Regions from separate parts of the Homo sapiens genome. Here region 2 is linked to region 1. Evidence: promoter capture Hi-C in human tissues and cell types (Jung and others, 2019). All regions are on one chromosome and are shown on one strand. Each heading gives the region's core, a stretch centred on a gene start or on the middle of the fragment in contact. The rest is flanking DNA. Distances are from core to core; before and after follow the strand shown. Region 1 holds the start of RANBP3 (RAN binding protein 3). Region 2 overlaps LOC124904625 (a long non-coding RNA gene).

Region 1 (3,991 bases), core at 332-2,831:
CATGGTGAAACCCCGTCTGTACTAAAAACACAAAAATTAGCTGGGTGTGGTGGTGCGCGCCTGTAATCCCAGCTACTCGGGAGGCTGAGGCAGGAGAATCACCTGAACCCGGGAGGCGGAGATTGCAGTGAGCCGAGATGGCGCCACTGCACTCCAGCCTGGCTACAGAGCTAGACTCCGTCCCAAAAAATAAAATAGAATAAAATGGCCAAGAATCAGGGAGAGAACCTGTGCTGCTGCCTGTACAGATGCCCAGCGCCCGCCCAACACCACACAGAATCAGAATCTGCAGGGACTGAGCACCCGTGGTCTGGCATCTGAAGCCAGGCCATCTTGGTTCACATCCCTGCTCCTTCCCAGCTGTGTGACACGCCTTGGATAAGCGACTTAACCACGTTGACTCAGTCTCCTCATCAAGTGAATGGGGCTAACAGTATCTATACCTCCTACCAGGGAAAACAGTATGTCAAGACTTTGCACCACACCTGGTAACTACCCTAAATGCTCCACAAGACCAAGCACTTCCTATCATCATTCATTCATTACTGCAATTCGGTAGGGAAAACCCTCCAGTCACAGGGAGCACCGAATGGGGGAATCAGAGCCAGACAGGTAGAGAGCTTGCCTGCATTTGTGCAACTAGAAAAGGGGGGGAGCTAAAAATAGGCCTCAGAAGTCTTGAAGCTACAGCGATGGCAACACGACTATGGATGGAAGCAGACATCAGCCTTATGGTGCCTTCTCGGGGGATCTGGAAGTGTAACCTTGTCAAAAACACTCAGGTGGGCTGTCAGCGCTCCACAGAGGAGGGACTCGCACGGTCTCTTGTCTGGAAGTGCAGCAAAAAGGGCCAAAGAGCAGCCAGGGTTTTCGGCGGCCCAGATCCTGCGGCGGGGCCTAAATGAGGGGGAGACGAAGCGCCCCGAAGGATCCGGGGGGAACTGGCGGGAAGTGGGGGCCGAAGTTCGGGGCGGGGACGGGGTGAAAACGGCCTGGGCTTCCTCCGTCCGCGGTGTGCGGCTGGCCCGCGGAGGACGAGGGCCTCACGGGCTTAGGAGATAGGCAGCCAGGCCGGGGAAGGGGAGATGCCGGGTGGCGGAGGACGAGGGGGCGGGGAGGGAGCGTGGCGCGCTCCGGGCCACAACCAGGCCCTAAGGTCTATTTACATCCGTGGCCGAAGCACTGGGGCCGCGCCTCCCGCCCCCTTCAGCCCCGAGCTTGGCTGCGACGCAGAGGGGCCTTAGGGCTGCGATCCCGATGGCCACCCGGCTCCTCTAGCCAGACGGCTGCAGTGGCTGGGGTTGCCGGGAGTGATGGGCCGGGCCGGTGAGCCCGGCCTGAGGGGACGCAATAGGGGGCGGCTGCAAGGCCCGCCACGGCGCTAGCCTGGAGCGGACGAAACCCTTGCACTCTGCGGTGCTCCCCCCAAGGGCTTGTGGCCCCTAGTCCTCCCGCCGCCCGTTCCCCGGCCGCCAGCCGGTCCCCAACGGCGCCTCCCCTACCTTCGTTCGCCAGGTCCGCCATTTTACTTCCTTAAGCCCTCCCACAAGGCCCCGCGCCGGCCCAGGCTCGCCTGCTTTCTGCCAGAAACTCCCGCGCGTGCGCACTTAACAAGCCGACTCCGTGTGAGGCGGCCAGCTCGCGCCTGCGCGCTGAATGCCGCGCGGAGGCGAGCCCCGGATCGCCTGCCCTGCAGAGCAGCCTGCCCTGACGAGCCGCGCTCCTAGCACGCACCTGCGCACGAGCCATCTCCCGCCTCCTTTTCCCGCCGACTGAGAGGGCGGGGAAAGGGCCGGGAAGGGCGCATGCGCAGTGGCAGCGACTAAGGTTTAGTGAGGCGGCACCGCGCGGCCCGAGGCGGGTCTTGAAGCACTCGTTTTCCCACTCGTTTTCCGGGGTTCCCCCGCGGTGGGACAGTGAGCAGTTCAGGGCGCCGCAGCCGAGGCCTTCCTCCAGGTAAATCGCCGGGCCTGCGGGGGCTTCCCACACGCGCGGGCGGGAGACGCGTTGCCTCCTACCTCAGTTTACCCGCCTTAGGAGCCGGTACCTTCGGCAAACGCTTTCCTGAAACCACGGGGGAAGTGGCGAGAGGGCGCGGGGTGCTTGGGATTGGGGGGTAAATCAGAGCTCATCGGCGGGGGCGGGGGTCGTGGTCAGGCTCTAGGAGGGGGCGCAGCCCTGGGACCCAGGTGCTGGCGTTGGGGGCGGGGGGAGCCGGCGCGAGGGACTCGACCCCTCGGAGCTACGAGAATCAACTTCACAAGCTCATGGGAGGGGAACCGCGCGCCTCCAGGTTACCCATCTGTAAAATGGGACCATCAGCCTCACTCACAAGGCTCATGGGAGGGTCCTGGACACCCTGGAGTTGTTCTCTACTCACCTGCTATGAATCTCTCAGCAAATCCTTCGGACTTGGCCTTGCCTCCAAAATACAGCCCAGAGCCACCCATTGTCACCCCCAGGCTGTCACCACCCTAGGCCACATCGTCCGTATCTATCTCATGGAAGACTTGGACAGCGGCCTCTCTGCTATCCTTTGCTGCATTCTTTTGAAGCCCCAGGCTTGGTTCTGCACATGGCCGCAGGCTGAGGAGTCTTTGAAAAATATAATCAGCCAGACGCGGTAGCTCACCCCTGGAATCCCAGCACTGCGGGAGGCCAAGGTGGGAGGATCGCTTGAGCTCAGTTCAAAACCAGCCTAGGCAACAGAGCAAGACCCCATCTCTACAAAAACACAAAAATTACCCGGATGTGGTGGTGCAAGCCTGTGGTCCCAGCTACTTGGGAGGCTGAGGCAGGAGGATCACTTGAGCCCAGGAGGTTGAGGCTGCAGTGAGCTGTGACAGTGCCACTGCCACCATCCTAGGGACACAGCAAGAACCTCCCCCATATATATACACATATATACTTTGTTTTTATCTATATATATACACACAGATATATACATACACGTGTGCATATATATGTGTGTGTGTGTATATATATATATATACACATAGACTGAAAATGGAAATATCAAGGCCACTCAGTGCTTCCAGAGGGCTCTCAGCTGAACTTGGAATATCCTAAACCTTGTATTCAGGTTTATGAAGTCCCCTGAACTTGGCTCCCATGCCCTGCTTTGTTCCCCCTTGCTCATTGCTGTTCAGCCGCGTGGGTCTTTCCATCCTTGGAGCACAAGCTCATTCCAACCTAAGGGTCTTTGCACTTGGTCGTCTCTCTGCCTGGGACCTTGTGTTTCAGGTCTTACCTAGGTTGGAGTCCCAGCTCTGCACCTTTTTGAGTATGATCTAAAAGAGAGCGAGGAGTACTACAATCTGTGGGCCAGATATAGTCTATGAGCTAAAAATGGTTCCTCCCTCCCTCCCCTTGTTCCCTCCCTCCCTTTCCTTCCCTTCCCTTTCTTTTATTTATTTTGGAATCTAACTCTGTTGCCCACGCTGGAGTGCAGTGGTACAATTTCGACTCACTACAACCTCCGCCTCCCGGGTTGAAGTGATTCTCCTGCCTCAGCCTTCTGAGTAGCTGGCATTACAGCTGTGTACTACTATACCCAGCTAGTTTTTGTGTTTTTTTGTGGAGACAGGGTTTCACCATGTTGGCCAGGCTGCTCTCGAACTTCTGACCTCAGGTGCTCTGCCCACCTTGGCTTCCCAAAGTGCTGGGATTACAGGCATGAGCCACCGCGCCTGCCGATTTTTTTACATTTTTAGCTGGTTGGGAAAAAAAATACCAAAAGAAGAATATCTATTGATGTGAAAATGGTGTGAAATTTACATTTCAGTGTCTGTAAATAAAGTTTTATTTGAAAACAGCCAATGCTTACTCATTTATATATTGTCTCTGGCTACTTTTGAGCTGTGACATTAGAGCTAATTTTTTTTTTTAACAGAAACTTTTTGGCCAACAAAACTTAAAGCATTTACTGTTTGTGTCTTTACAGAAAAAGTTTGCCAGTTCCTAATCCAGGACACATGTATTTACATGGTTG
Region 2 (4,298 bases), core at 211-2,710, 1.1 Mb after region 1:
AGCTTTCAGTGAGCCGAGATCGCGCCGCTGCACTCCAGCCTGGGCGACAGAGTGAGACTCCATCCCAAAAAAAAATAAAAATAAAAATCCATTCAGATAAGGGACTGGCAGAGAGAAAGCAGAATGTGGAATGGATGTGGAAGAATTAAATTCAGTCCTGAAGACCAGGTCCCAAAGCAGGAATAGAAGACAGCTATGCTTTGGGTTTGGGTTTTTTAAAAAATCTTTAATTTTTTCCGCTTTTTCCCTGGTTCCCCACCACCACCATCACCATTTTATATGAAGAGTCCTGGTTGTGGCCAAAGCTTAAGGTTTCTGATGGGAATACGACCAAATGACATTATCCCAACAGTAGCTTCCTTTGTATCTCTTTTTTTTTTTTTTTTTTTTTGAGATGGAGTCTCACTCTGTCACACAGGCTGGAGTGCAATGGTGCCATCTCTGCTCACTACAACCTCCGCCTCCTGGATTCAAGCGACTCTCCTGCTTCAGCCTCCCGAGTAGCTGGGACTACAGGCACACGCCAGCACACCCGGCTAATTTTTGTATTTTTAGTAGAGATGGGGTTTCACTATGTTGGCCAGGCTGGTCTTGAATTCTTGACCTTGTGATCCGCCCACCTCGGCCTCCCAAAGTGCTAGGATTACAGGCGGGAGCCACCGCGCCCGGCCCCCTTTGTATCTTATGTAGGGACATGAACTTAGCGCCAAGTGAAGGACAAGAATTGATATCCAAAATCCAATAGATTTTTCTTTTAAATACCTGAAAGTGAAACTGGCCCAATTTTCCCATATTGCTGATGTTTATGGTTTCCTTGAATAAACAAACAAATTGATCTTCCCAATCTTAAAACTTAAGAAAGTTACATTTATCTTATCTGAGTTCCTTTCTCAGGAAACCAACCATCAGGCCTCCCAGATAGTATCTAGGAGCTGAAACGCACCAGAATACTGCATTTGTACAGTGAGACATCAGACCCATCACCCATCATGATTGCCTAACTGACCACCTGCTTCCTGTTGACCAACTCCTCTTCCTTACCCTTCCCTAATTCCTGTATTCCCACACATGGTAACATTTCTTCCCTGCTATATAAACCTCAAATTTTAGTTGGTCAGGGAGATGGATTTGAGATTGTTCTCCCACCTCCTCAGCTGCAGCAGCTGATTAAAGCCTTCTTCCTTGGCAATACTCATTGTCTCAGCGATAGGCTTTCTGTGCAGTGGTGAGCAGCAGGACCTAGATTGAACCCCTGGTGTTTCAGCAACAACATAGTTCATCACCAGCAGAACTGCACTTCAAGAAACACTAAAGAAAGTTTTGGGCCAGACACGGTGGCTCACACCTGTAATCCCAGCATTTTGGGAGGCTGAGGCAGGTGGATCACCTGAGGTCAGGAGTTCGAGACAAGGCTGGCCAACATGGCAAAACCCCATCTCTGCTAAAACTACAAAAAAAAAAAAAAATTAGCTGGGCGTAGTGGCGGTCGCCTATAATCCCAGCTACTTGGGAGGCTGAGGCAGGAGAATTGCTTGAACCCAGGAGGTGGAGGTTGCAGTGAGCTGAGATCGCACCGTTGCTTTCCAGCCTGGGCGATGGAGCGAGACTCTGTCTCAAAAAAAAAAAAGAAGGAAGGAGGGAGGGAGGGAAGGAAGGAAGGAAGGAAGGAGAAGGAAAGAAAGAAGGAAAGTTTTGGGGCTGGAGGAAAATTATTCCATGTGGAAGCAATTCCAGAAATATATAAGGATAATCAGGAAAGATAAAATGTGAGCAAATACAAATAAATATTGACTGTATAAATCAAGCCTGTATAGTTTTAACACTTTTATACGTCTAAATCTTTTTTTTTTTTTCAGACGGAGTCTCACTCTGTTGCCCACACTCACCTCACTGCAACTTCCGCCTCCTGGGTTCAAGCAATTCTCTTGCCTCAGCCTCCAAGTAGCTGCAACTACAGGTGTGCACCACCACGCCCAGCTAATTTTTGTATTTTTAGTAGAGATGGGGTTTCGCCATGGTGACCAGGCTGGTCTCAAACTCCTGACCTCAAGTGATCCATCTGCCTTGGCCTCCCAAAAGTGTTAGGATTATAGGCGTGAGCCAACGTGCCCAGCCCTAATTTTTTTTTTTTTTCAAATAAAAAGAGTTTTAAATCACATTGAACTGGTCCCTTAAAACTAGAGATAATAGAAAGCATGGCAAGCCATTTCCCAGTCCCCCTAAGACTAGAGATTATGGAAGCCCCAGCAAGTGATTCTCACAATCTGCATACAGCAGTAGAGCTGACAGAAGCCCTAGCAGGTAACCACCAGTCACCCTCAAAACAAGAGGCAACAGGATGCCAGATCTCCACCCCTCAATCACTTACAAACACAAAAGATGGAGTCCAAACATGAAGACCTCCGTCATCGCGAAACTACTCCAGCAAGCACCCCTCAGTCACGTCCAAAACTATAACAGAAGTCCCTGAAATGACCCCTTCAGATGCCCCTCAACACTAAAGAATGGGGACTCCAAGCCCAATGGCCTACCCAGTCTATACCAACAGTACAGGCAAGCGGAGACCCAGAATATGACCCTCCCCAACTAGAGATAAGTGGAACCCCATCCAATAATCCCTCCATCCTCTCCCCAAACAATACACAGTAAGGCCTCTATCTGATAAATGCTCTTGACCCTTCAACACTAGAAAAAAATGGAAGCCCCAGGCACTGGCCCTCCAGTTACCTCCAACATCAGAGACAATGAAAGCTTCGCCAAGTGATTCCCCGTATCGCTCCTACATTAATGATGGAAACTCCAAAAACCAATCAACCCTCAATCCTCTACACACTCAAGAAAGGAACTCCAGGCTGGGTATGGTGGCTCACGCCTGTAATCCCAGCACTTTGGGAGGCCAAGGCGGGTGGATCACGAGATCAGGAGTTCGAGACCAGCCTGACCAATATGGTGAAACCGTCTCTACTAAAAATACAAAAATTAGCCGGGCGTGGTGACACGTGCCTGTAGTCCTAGCTACTCAGGAGACTGAGGCAGGAGAATCTCTTGAACCCGGGAGGCAGAGTTTGCAGTGAGCCAAGATCACACCACTGCGCTCAAGCCTGGGAGACAGAGCAAGATTCTGTCTCAAAAAAAAAAAAAAAAAAAAAAAGAACTCCAGCAAATGCCACCATTCTTACCCACTACCGCTGCAACATGCATCCCTTGTCTTCCCAAGACTATAAATAAGTATCCCCAGCAATGACACCCAAAACAAGCAATGGTCAGAATCTCAACAGGCAGCCCCCCAGATTCTACAACATAAGTGACAAACTCATACCCCAGAAAACTATCTCTCTTCCCATTATCCCAAAGTAAGAGTTAATAGAAGCATCAGCAAGCAACACCCTTAACATAAACGAGGAGGGGAGCCCAGAATGCAAATCCCGTCTCCCCCAACATGAGTTGACTGCCCCTGCGGTGACCCCTCCTTTATCCCAAACACAAGGAATAATCTTAGCCCCAGCAGGCAACTCCTGCAGCCTCCCCTTGCAATATGAGTATCTCTACCCTCACAATATAGATTGATAGAGCCCTATCAAGCCAAGTGTCCCCTGCTAGGGGAATGTTGGGTACTCCAGTCTCAGAACATGGAAGACGATGGTAGTCCTGACAAGCTGGCAAATACTCTAAGCTCCCATAATACAGGAGGTGATACAGCCCAGCAAGCAAACCTTCCAACATTTCCTGCACCCAGCAGACCCTTATCAGCTGCATTCCCAGTTGACTCTCAGAGCATCTCCTGCTCGCTCACTAGAAGCAAAGAAAGACTAGAGTTGGGGGTAAGGCTGAGAGGAAGAGAGAGGGGAGAAGGGTAAAAGAAAGAGAAGAGGGGGAAAGGAGACCTTCCAAGTTGTTCTAAACCCGGCCATGAATTCCAGATGCCTCAAACAGCTACAATCAGATCAGGCACTCCAGCACAAAAAAAGAGATTCCGGGCTGATGAAAAGAGGTGGTCTGAAGGAAAGGTGGGTGTGTTGACTAGCCTTCAGAATGCTCACCAAAGACCCTTGCCACCTGATATTCCTGTCCTGTGTACCCCACCTCCAATATTGAATCATACACGACCCATATGATCAATACAGCACTGTTGCATGTGACATCTGAGGCTAGGTCATAAGACACACTGAAGCTTCCTCCTTGGTCTCTTCTATTGCTCTTTCTCTAGGAGAAGCCATCCGCCATGCCATGAGGAGACTCAAGCAGCCCCGTAACCAGTAACCAACTCACCAGCACCACATTGCTAGCCAGGGGATGAG

The links. The method cuts DNA at HindIII sites, captures the fragments that hold promoters and counts their contacts. A contact is called where the count stands out against the background at its distance.
Region 2: a contact is called between a fragment that was not itself captured here and the fragment with the promoter of RANBP3 in region 1, in 1 of the 25 tissues and cell types used here (dorsolateral prefrontal cortex).

What each region holds. Positions count from the first base shown.
Region 1 is chr19:5,976,559-5,980,549 of GRCh38, forward strand. RANBP3 (RAN binding protein 3) reads right to left here and starts at 1,582. Exons shown (of 17, transcript NM_007322.3): 1 at 1,503-1,582. The coding sequence starts at 1,524. RANBP3-DT (RANBP3 divergent transcript) reads left to right here and starts at 1,845. Exons shown (of 4, transcript NR_046376.1): 1 at 1,845-1,956. RefSeq lists silencers at 1,366-1,475, 1,706-1,875, 1,926-1,975. The HindIII fragment of the contact is 11,015 bases long and covers 1-3,991 here.
Region 2 is chr19:7,094,049-7,098,346 of GRCh38, forward strand. All of the region lies in intron 1 of LOC124904625 (a long non-coding RNA gene), which reads right to left. Among named protein-coding and RNA genes, the nearest start is that of ZNF557, 26 kb to the left of the region's middle. The HindIII fragment of the contact is 4,002 bases long and covers 1-3,461 here.